3 separate regions of the Homo sapiens genome follow, and all the other regions are linked to region 1. The links are contacts of gene promoters, found by promoter capture Hi-C in human tissues and cell types (Jung and others, 2019). All regions are on one chromosome and are shown on one strand. The core of a region is centred on a gene start or on the middle of the fragment in contact, and the rest is flanking DNA. Distances in the headings are between cores, read along the strand shown. Region 1 has its middle 29 kb from the start of CAVIN3. Region 2 holds the start of OR56B4 (olfactory receptor family 56 subfamily B member 4). Region 3 holds the start of DNHD1 (dynein heavy chain domain 1).

Region 1 (3,342 bases), core at 383-2,882:
GTTTACCTACACAGCTATAGTTCATACTGGAAAAATGAGGTCTACCAATGGGGCAAGCCCCTTTAGAATGTCCTTTGAAGTGCATGCTTTTGAGGTCAACCTGGATCCCAAAGAGACAACTGGGAAAGCTGAAGCTTGTTCTTCCCAAATGTATCATTTAGCTAAGTCATTGACTTCTCTTCTGGAGAGGGAGGCCAGTATTATTACTCTAAAAGAGCTCCCTCCATGTGAAATGAACCATTGAGAGCGAAGAAAAGCACTTTTCTCCAGTCGTAGTCAAGGTTAACCATCCTAATGGATAAAGAAAATGTGGGATATATTCAGCCCTTATAAAGAAGGAAATCCTTTCATTTGTGACAATATGGAGAAACCTGGAAAACATTATGTGAAGTAAAACAAGCCAGACACAGAAGGACAAATATTGCATGATTTCAGAAATATGTGGAATCTTTAAAAAGTCAAACTTATAGAAGCAGAGAGTAGAATAGAAGTTACCAGTAGCTGCGGCCAGGCGCGGTGGCTCACGCCTGTAATCCCAGCACTTTGAGAGGCCGAGGTGGGCGGATCACGAGGTCAGGAGATCCAGACCATCCTGGCTAACACAGTGAAACCCCGCCTCTACTAAAAATACAAAAAATTAGCCGGTCGTGGTGGCGGGCGCCTGTAGTCCCAGCTACTCGGGAGGCTGAGGCAGGAGAATGGCATGAACCCGGGAGGCGGAGCTTGCAGTGAGCCGAGATCGCGCCACTGCACTCCAGCCTGGGCGACGGAGCCAGACTCCGTTTCAACAAAAAAAAAAAAAAAAAAAAAAAAAAAGTAGTTACCAGTAGCTGGGGCTGGGGGTTGGGGTGCTGGGCGAGTAGGGAGATTGGGGAGACGTTGATCAAAAGGCACAAAAGTTTCCTCCAGTTAGACAGGAAGAATCAGCTCAGAAGATTTACTGTACAATACGATGACCATAGTTAATAACAATGTATTATACATTTGAAAATTGCTAAGAGTAGATTATGCTTTCTCACCACAGAAAAAATGTGTAAGTATTTGAGGTAATTGATATGTTAATTGGCTCAATTTAACCATTCTACAGTGTATTCATATATCAAAACATGTACACTAAAAAATCTATACCATTTATATTAGTCAACTTAAAAATTAATTTTTTAAAAAGATTAATTATCCTAGATAACAGCAGGACATCTTTTTTCCGTTTCTGCACATGGCATGAGAAATGTGACATGACCAGTTTCCAATTTCCAATGTAATGGGATCATCATTACAGGCACCTAGTGAAAATATCTCTCACTTTGTTTTTGGTTTTGTTGTTTTGTTTTGTTTTTGTTTTACTTTGAACACTAAGATGCTAAATACTTTGGTAGTAAAAGAATCTTGGTTAGAGAAAGACAGCATTTTGAGAATGGTTATTGAAGTATAATTATGAGTGGTGATGCTCCCATCTCCAACTCTTAATCCCTGGGCCTATGTGTTCTGACTTGGAGACATGAATATATGAATCTGGCAGAGAGCATAAATCACCAACAGCAAGACAAGATGCCTAACTCACAAGCAATTGTCCCCCAGCTAGGGTCAAAGCTGAACATTCATTTCTCTATAATGCCAGCAACTTCTGTCTGATAGGGTCTATATTAGCTTTCTAGAGCTGCTATAAGAAAGTGCCACAAAATTAGTGATTTAAAACAACAGAAACATATTCATTTGTTATCTTATGGTTCTAGAAGCTAGAAGCCCAAGGTCTCAGCAGGGCACTCTCAGAAGGCTCTGGAGAGGATCATTCTTTGCCTCTGGTAGCTCCCAGCAATCCTTGTCATTCCTTGGCGTGTAACTGCACCACTTCAATCTCTGTCTTCATTTTCACAGGTCCTTCTTTCCTCTGTATCCAAGAGTTTTCAAATCTTTCTCTCCTTATAGAGACACCAATCATTGAGTTTAGGGTCCTCCCTAATCCAGTCTGACCTTATCTTAATTTAATTACACATGCAAAGACCCTATTTTTAAATAAGGTCCTCTTCAAAGGTACCGGAGTTAGGACTTCAACATATCTTTTTGAAGAACACAGTTCAATCCACTGTAGGTCCCATAATGAAATCAATGAATGGCATGGACATTGGTTCTTTGCCTTACTTCTTTTTCTATGAAAAATTTCTTGACAGAGCTGTGATACATTAACTGTAAAAATGGACCCTGGCCGGGTGCTGTGGCTCACGCCTGTAATCCCAGCACTTTGGGAGGCTGAGGTGGGCGGATCAGAAGGTCAGGAGATCCAGACATTCCTGGCTAACACAGTGAAACCCCATCTCTACTAAAAATACAAAAAAAGGTCAGGAGATCCAGACATTCCTGGCTAACACAGTGAAACCCCATCTCTACTAAAAATACAAAAAAAAAATAGCCAGGCGTGGTGGCGAGCACCTGTAGTCCCAGCTACGCTGGAGGCTGAGGCAGGAGAATGGTGAGAACCCGGGAGGCGGAGCTTGCAGTGAGCTGAGATCGCTCCACTGCACTCCAACCTGGGCAACAGAGCAAGACTCAGTCTCAAAAAAAAAAAAAAAAAGACCCTATGCTTCCCCTGCCTCCCTGTATCCATACTTTTTGAAATGTGACTTTTCAATCCTTCCATCAAGAAAGTCTGTTTCCTCACACACTGAATCTAGACTGGCCTTATGGTTTGCTTTGGCCAATAGAATGCAGCAGAAGTGTCATCATACTATTTCTGAATGTATGCTTCAAACTTCTGGTCTCTCTTTTGGAAACCTGACCCTGCCATGTAAATAACACCAGGGTAACTTGATGCTTGATGAGACACATGTCCCAGTCTCCCATGTCACCCAGCCATCAGCCAGCCAACCACCAGACATGTGAGTGAGGCCATCCTAGACCAGTCAACCTGCAGCTGATCAACATGGTGACCCACAGATTCATGGGCAATAATATATGGTTACTGTTTTAAGCCACTATGTTTTGGGATGGCTTGTTATGCAGCATTAAATAACTGATAACAAGATATAACAGTATATATGACTCCATGACAATACATAAGACTTTCAGTAAGTTCGCAGATGTCAGTGCTGGCAGGAGTGTGACAAATGGAGAAGTAACACCCAAATTCAGAATAAGTGTCTATTCCAATGAGGACAAATGTCTGTCACCTATGTAATGAAACATGCCTAAAAACAATCTAGCTGGTAGCATTAGCTGGCTGATCCCATTAAATTATGGTCTCATAATATGGATTAAGAGTTTGTCACTGTTAATTGGCAATTTGCATATTTGGCTGTGGCAGTAGCCAAATAAGACACAGCCAAGAGAATTCTATTATGAGCCAAA
Region 2 (3,342 bases), core at 625-3,124, 240 kb before region 1:
TATTACATGTTCCTACACATGTTTGGGAGCTTAAAAAGTGGATCTCAGCTGGGCACGGTGGCTCACGCCTGTAATCCCAGCACTTTGGGAGGCCAAGGCAGGCAGATCACCTGAGGTCAGGAGTTTGAGACCAGCCTCGCCAACATGGTGAAACCCCATCTCTACTAAAAATACAAAAATTAGCCGGGTGTGGTGGCACACACCTGTAATCCCAGCTACTCGGGAGGCTGAGGCAGGAGAATCGCTTGAACCTGGGAGGTGGAGTTTGCAGTGAGCCGGAAAAAGAAAAAAAGTGGATCTCACAGAAGTAATGAATAGAATGGTGGTTACCAGAGGCCGGAAAGGGTGGGGGTAGGGGAAGAATAGAGGGTGGCTGATGGGGACAAAAATACAGTTAGGTGGAAGAAATAAGTTCTAGTATTCAATAGCACAGTAGGAAAATTATAGTTAATAATTTACTGTATGTTTCAAAATCGCTAAAAGAGAATTGCAATGTTCCTAACACAAAGAAAAGATAAATGCTTGAGGTGATGGATATCCTAATTACACTGATTCGATCATTACACATTGTATACATGTATCAAAATATCACATGTACCTCCAAAATATCTACAAATATGATATATCAATTCTAAAAATACAAAAAAAAATCATTAAACTATAGGGCATCTAGGTGGTAGAAAATAATGCAACTTAACTGCAGTATGGAAATATGGAGCAGTCTTCAAAATATTAAGTTAAAAAAGAAAAGGAAAGAAAAAAGGAGAAAGGTGTGCTAACAATTGATTATGTCTTTTATGAAAATTATATATATATATATATATATATATATATGTTTTTATCCATGCATAAACTATTAATGGAAGGATTCCCAAGAAACATATTACTGGCTGCCTCTAGTGAAAAGGAAAAAGATTTCAAAGCCCCAAGCATGAGAGTCTTACTTTTCATTGTTTATATTTTTCATTTTATTTTGATTTTTACCATGTATAGATAATATATCTTAAAATAAAATCAAAATTATATTTAAAATTTTAAGACTATTATATCCTTTGTATATATAATTTTTGCATCACTTTTGAAACTCTACTCAAGGAAAACAATATTAAAAGCAAAATACCTGTCAGTAAATTATAGAATAGCCAAATGCAAAAATTTAAAGCAGCAATTAAAATTAACATCACACTTTTTAAATAATATTGTGAAGTCTTTGGTTAATGTATTCATCCATGAAATAAAATTTTTGAGTGCTTATATTACATCTTAACACATACTGCTAAAAGACAAAAACAAGATACAAAATCATCTCTAGATAATGATGTAGACTGTTTAAAAATAAAATAGAAAATTGGAAATAAATCAAATACTAACATTTGTTATCTGTTAGTGATAAGACTGTTGTTAATATATGTGGACATGCTTATTAGACATACAAGTGGTGATGAAAAATAGTTATTCCAACTCTTCTGTTTAGAATTTTTTTGCTTTTTTTGTTATTCCTCTGTGGAATATTTCCAGAAGTCAAATAAAGTTGAGGGTCATTCATGAATAAAAGGAGCTGGTTCATTATTGAGGAGCTCTTACCAAGACACTTAACTTTTTGTTTTGTTTTGTTTTTTAAGACAGGGTCTCACTCTGTTGTCCAGGCTGGGGTGCAGTGGCACAATCTCGGCTCACGGCAACCTCCGCCTCCCAGGTTCAATGATTCTCATGCCTCAGCCTCCCAAGTAGCTGGGATTACAGACAGGCACCACCACACCCAGCTAATTTTTGTATTCTCCGCAGAGATGAGATTTTGCCATGTTAGCCAGGTCAGTCTCGAGCTCCTGACCTCAAATTATCTGCCTGTCTCAGCCTCCCAAAGTGCTGGGATTACAGGCATGAACCACGATGCTCAGCCCCTTAGCTGAACTTTTAAACAGAGATTTCTTCTATTTCAGACAGACACTGAGACTGAGGCACCCATTCCATGGATACCTCCACCAGTGTTACCTATGACTCCAGCCTCCAGATTTCCCAGTTCATCCTGATGGGATTACCAGGCATTCATGAGTGGCAGCACTGGCTCTCCCTGCCCCTGACTCTGCTCTACCTCTTAGCTCTTGGTGCCAATCTCCTCATCATAATCACCATTCAACATGAGACCGTGCTACATGAACCCATGTACCATTTGCTGGGCATATTAGCAGTGGTGGACATTGGCCTGGCCACCACCATCATGCCCAAGATCCTGGCCATCTTCTGGTTTGATGCCAAGGCCATTAGCCTCCCCATGTGTTTTGCTCAGATCTATGCCATCCACTGCTTCTTCTGCATAGAGTCAGGCATCTTTCTCTGCATGGCAGTAGACAGATACATAGCCATCTGTCGCCCTCTTCAGTACCCCTCCATAGTCACTAAAGCTTTTGTCTTCAAAGCCACAGGGTTCATCATGCTCAGGAATGGCCTGTTGACCATCCCAGTGCCTATACTGGCTGCCCAGAGACACTACTGTTCCAGGAATGAAATCGAGCACTGCCTCTGCTCTAACTTGGGGGTTATCAGCCTGGCTTGTGATGACATCACTGTGAACAAATTTTACCAACTGATGCTAGCATGGGTCTTGGTTGGGAGTGATATGGCTCTGGTATTTTCTTCCTATGCTGTAATCCTTCACTCTGTGCTGAGGCTGAACTCAGCAGAAGCAATGTCCAAGGCTCTGAGCACTTGTAGCTCCCACCTCATCCTCATCCTCTTCCACACAGGTATCATTGTGCTGTCTGTCACACACCTTGCAGAGAAAAAGATTCCCCTTATTCCTGTGTTCCTTAATGTGCTGCACAATGTCATCCCCCCTGCACTCAACCCCCTGGCCTGTGCACTCAGGATGCACAAACTCAGACTGGGCTTTCAGAGACTGCTTGGACTGGGTCAGGACGTGTCCAAGTAACTCCAGCTTTAGGAATCCAGTAAGATGTTAGGAAATGACAGAGGTTTTAGTTCTCAATAGATCAGGGTTATAATCTGCACTTACCACACTCCCTAGGAAAAAAATGGCCAATAAAATCATGAAAACTGTCAGCCTCACTAATCAAAATATGTATATTAAAATTACAAGAAAATTTCCTATTACCTGGAAAATAAGTAAGAACAAAAAAGTGAAATGTTTCTAACTATTACTGCTAGCCTACCCCGAGATTAACACTTTCCTACACAACTGGTAGGACTATAAACACACCAAAAAGCAATTTGGTAAAATTTATCAAAATGTTTATAAATGTTTAAATGTTCTTAACCAGTAATTCTATTTTAGAAAAATATCCAAAAGAAATAGTCTAAATGCAGTCAAAAAGTTATTCATAA
Region 3 (3,342 bases), core at 220-2,719, 150 kb after region 1:
GAAGAGAGAAGCCTACAGAGGTAGCAGGCAGTTATCAGCAATTTGTAGGCCATGATAGGACTTTGGCCTTCAGCTGAAGGAATTAGATGAGGGGGCATTAGTGAGCTATGAGCAGAGGAGTTATAGGATCTGCCTATATTTGAAAAGGATCACTGGCTGCTCTAAAAAGAATGGATTGTAGGGGCAATGGTGAGAAGCATGAGAAGGATCTGAGGCAAGGAGAACAGTTCAAAGGCTGTGGAAAAACCCAGGTGAGAAATGATAGCAGCTTAGACCAAGGTTGTAGTACTTAAGATGGTGGGAAATAGTTGGATTCTGGATATATTCTGAAGGCACAACCAGCAGAATTTCCTGAAGGATTACTTATGGAGGGAGGGGGAGAGAGAGAAAGAGAAAGGGAAAAAGAAGAGGGAAAGAGAAAGAAGGGGTTTGGAAGAGGTCTCAAAGCTGACTCCAAGGTTTTGGTGTGAGAAACCAGAAAGAATGGATTTGCCATTGACTGAGGTGGGAAAGACAGTGAAAGGAGCAGCATTTCTTTGGTGGGGAAAGGGTGGTTAGGAGCCTGCTTTTGGACATTTTAAGTTTGAGATACCTATAAGCTCTCCAGGTGGAGACATTAAGTAGGCAGTTGGATATACTAATCTGATTTCAGAGGAGAGGTGGGCTGAATTTCTTTTTTTATTTTAATCATCAACTTTTTTTTTTTTTTTTTTTTTTTTGAGATAGAGTCTCCCTCTGTCGCCCAGGCTGGAGTGCAGTGGCGCGATCTCTGCTCACTGCAAGCTCCGCCTCCTGGGTTCACGCCATTCTCCTGCCTCAGCCTCCCCAGTAGCTGGGACTACAGGCGCCCACCGCCACGCTCGGCTAATTTTTTTGTATTTTTAGTAGAGACAGGGTTTCACCGTGTTAGCCAGGATGGTCTCGATCTCCTGACCTCGTGATCCACCCGCCTCGGCCTCTCAAAATGCTGGGATTACAGGCATGAGCCACCGCGCCCGGCCTCATTCAACTTAATTTTTAAAAATTAGCCCCTCCATAAGCCCTTCCCCAAAAAATCCCCCTCCCCCCGTGCCAAATAGATGTTGAGCTCCTTGAGATCAAGGATTTTGTTTTATTCGGGCTTCTTTTGGGGAGGTGGGATAGGGTAGATGGATACGTTGGGGGTGGGGATGGGGGAGTACCAAAGACATACCAAAGACCTGGCACTAGTTTAGATACTCAGCGAATGGATATAAACACCTGCTTACGACACCCTCTGGATTGCTAGTCTCCCGAGTCAACCGTACTGCACGTGCAGTTCAGACCCCGCCTGGTCCTCTACAGGTCCCTGTCCCAGGCAAGCCTTAGCCCACAGGTTGAACCTAGTTCTGCCCCTCCAGGCTTGGGCTCTGCCCTCTCGGCCCCGCCCATATCGGACCCTGGCCCCTCCTCTTTCTGGCTCCCCCGGATGCTCCTGGCAAAGACTCGGTCCTTCTGGAATCTTGTAACGGTTCTAACAGCTGGGTGCGGGTGGAGCTGCGGGTGAGTCCTCGGCTCCGGATCCATTTCTCTTTGTTCCCTAGGACCCCCTCCCACAGAGTCCGCCTCCTCTTCCCCGCTCTCCCAGCCCCCTCCTTTGCCTGTTAACGTCTTCCCCTACCTGCATCCTGACCATCATTTGCTGTGCCTGCTCCTCGGCTTTCTGTCTTCACGACCTCCTTAGGCTGTGGGCGAAGACGTCATGGGACTGGGGCTCTGCTGCCTTCGAGTGACGACCTGTTAACCCGTTTTTCAGGCGATCGCCAGCTCGAGTGCAGATTCCTTGCTGTGACCGAGGTTCAGAGTGAGCTCTGTCGGTGTGTCAGTTTGCCTCTTCAGGTGATTGCACGTCTGTGTGCGAGTCTCTCCGTGTATGGGTGGCTATGATTAGGGTGAGCCTCAGACTGGAACTCAAGTCTAAGTTCATTCACTGCTCCAGCAGGCACTCTTCAATGAAACCTCATCAGCAGATCGGGCTCTCTTCCCTTGCCTTGCCTCCTAACCCCCCTAGGCCAGGTGAGGGGGACAGGGTACTGGGAGGTAAGAAGGAACTCTTCTGCAAGGAGGGCTCTCACGTCTGTCTTAGGCCTGCTCCTTACCAGAGTCTTTGGGGAAGCAGTAGGGAGGGCCTGAGGGTCTCAGGAAAGGCTCTCTGCTGGTCTGGCTCTGCTCTGTAGCTCCATCTATTTCCCTGTCCCAGGTCCTTTCTTCCTCCTAACCCCATTGACTCTGACCATCCCCTGCCCAGAGCCTGAGGTCCCTTCTCTGGCCCCTCTGCTGGGCTGGCCCATGCAGGTGAGGCCCCGCATCTGGCATCCTGGAACTGGCAGTTGGAGCCTGAGCTATGGGCAAGGTCACTTCGACAGCAGTTGAATGCCCAGCTCCTCATGGTCCCGGAGGAGAGGAGGGTAGGTTTGTCTTCTGATGAGACATCATCTGATTCCCTTAAGTCTTGGCACTCCATATGTGTCTTGGACAGCAAAGAACAGCCCTTGGCCTGCCAGCAGAAACAGAGGCAGTTCGTGAAGCCAGTGACTGAGTCAGAGCAGCCCACAGTGCTGGAACTCCTGCTAGCTGAGCTCCGAACTCTGTTCTCAGCTGTGTTGCAGGACAGTAGCCCTGCAGCTTGGCGCTATCTTCATGCAGTACTGGGTCTACTGCCTCCATATCGTGAGTTGCTAGTTGGCCACCTTGATTTGCTGCCCTTCCTGGAGCAGCTGTACTGCTGGGCACCCTGGGTCCAAACCCACCTCCATCTGGACCTGCTAGGTGCCATTGTCCAGGCCTTTCCTCCAGACAGCTCTTTGTTAGACAGTGCTTCCCATGCTGACTGCTGTCCCCAGAAGCGGAGGCTCCATCACAGGCCCCCATGCCCAGCTTGCCCTTTTGTGCAGGCCCAGTGGAGCAGGCAGCAAGTAAAGGAGGAGCTGGCCACCTGGCTGCGACCATTGACACTGCCTGAGCTACAGCGCTGCCTGGGCATTGTTGGTGCTCAGGTGGCCCTAGAAGAGGCTGTGTGGCTGGATGGACTTAGTCTCCTTCCCTTGGCACTGGCAGCGGACATCCCTGTACGGTATGAAAGCAGTGACACTGACAATGCAGAGGTGGAGCCTGTTGGAAGAAAAGAGACCAGGTAAGTGAGGGACTCAGTCTAGGGCTTGAGCAGAGGAGAAAAAGTTGCTGTTTTATGGGTGCCTCTGGGGTCACTTGGAAGTTTAGATCCAGCTCTCTGTTTATCACAGGGATTAGCCCAACTCCACACAAAGCTAGTGTGAGGCTACTTTCCTCTTCCTTTTTCTCTGCAAAATAAACCCAGTGGTGTTA

The links. Contacts are between HindIII fragments. The study calls those that stand out against the background at their distance.
Region 2: a contact is called between the fragment with the promoter of OR56B4 here and a fragment that was not itself captured in region 1, in 2 of the 25 tissues and cell types used here (mesendoderm cells and neural progenitor cells).
Region 3: a contact is called between the fragment with the promoter of DNHD1 here and a fragment that was not itself captured in region 1, in 1 of the 25 tissues and cell types used here (pancreas).

The regions. Positions count from the first base shown.
Region 1 is chr11:6,347,475-6,350,816 of GRCh38, forward strand. No RefSeq gene overlaps it. Among named protein-coding and RNA genes, the nearest start is that of CAVIN3, 29 kb to the left of the region's middle. The HindIII fragment of the contact is 9,857 bases long and covers 1-3,342 here.
Region 2 is chr11:6,105,810-6,109,151 of GRCh38, forward strand. It overlaps OR56B4 (olfactory receptor family 56 subfamily B member 4), which reads left to right and starts at 1,875. Exons shown (of 1, transcript NM_001005181.2): 1 at 1,875-3,026. The coding sequence starts at 1,970. The coding sequence ends at 2,929. The region is part of intron 2 of LOC124902622 (a long non-coding RNA gene); the gene reads right to left. The HindIII fragment of the contact is 6,854 bases long and covers 1-3,342 here.
Region 3 is chr11:6,495,811-6,499,152 of GRCh38, forward strand. DNHD1 (dynein heavy chain domain 1) reads left to right here and starts at 1,470. Exons shown (of 43, transcript NM_144666.3): 1 at 1,470-1,521; 2 at 1,775-1,857; 3 at 1,961-3,151. The coding sequence starts at 2,406. The HindIII fragment of the contact is 8,534 bases long and covers 1-3,342 here.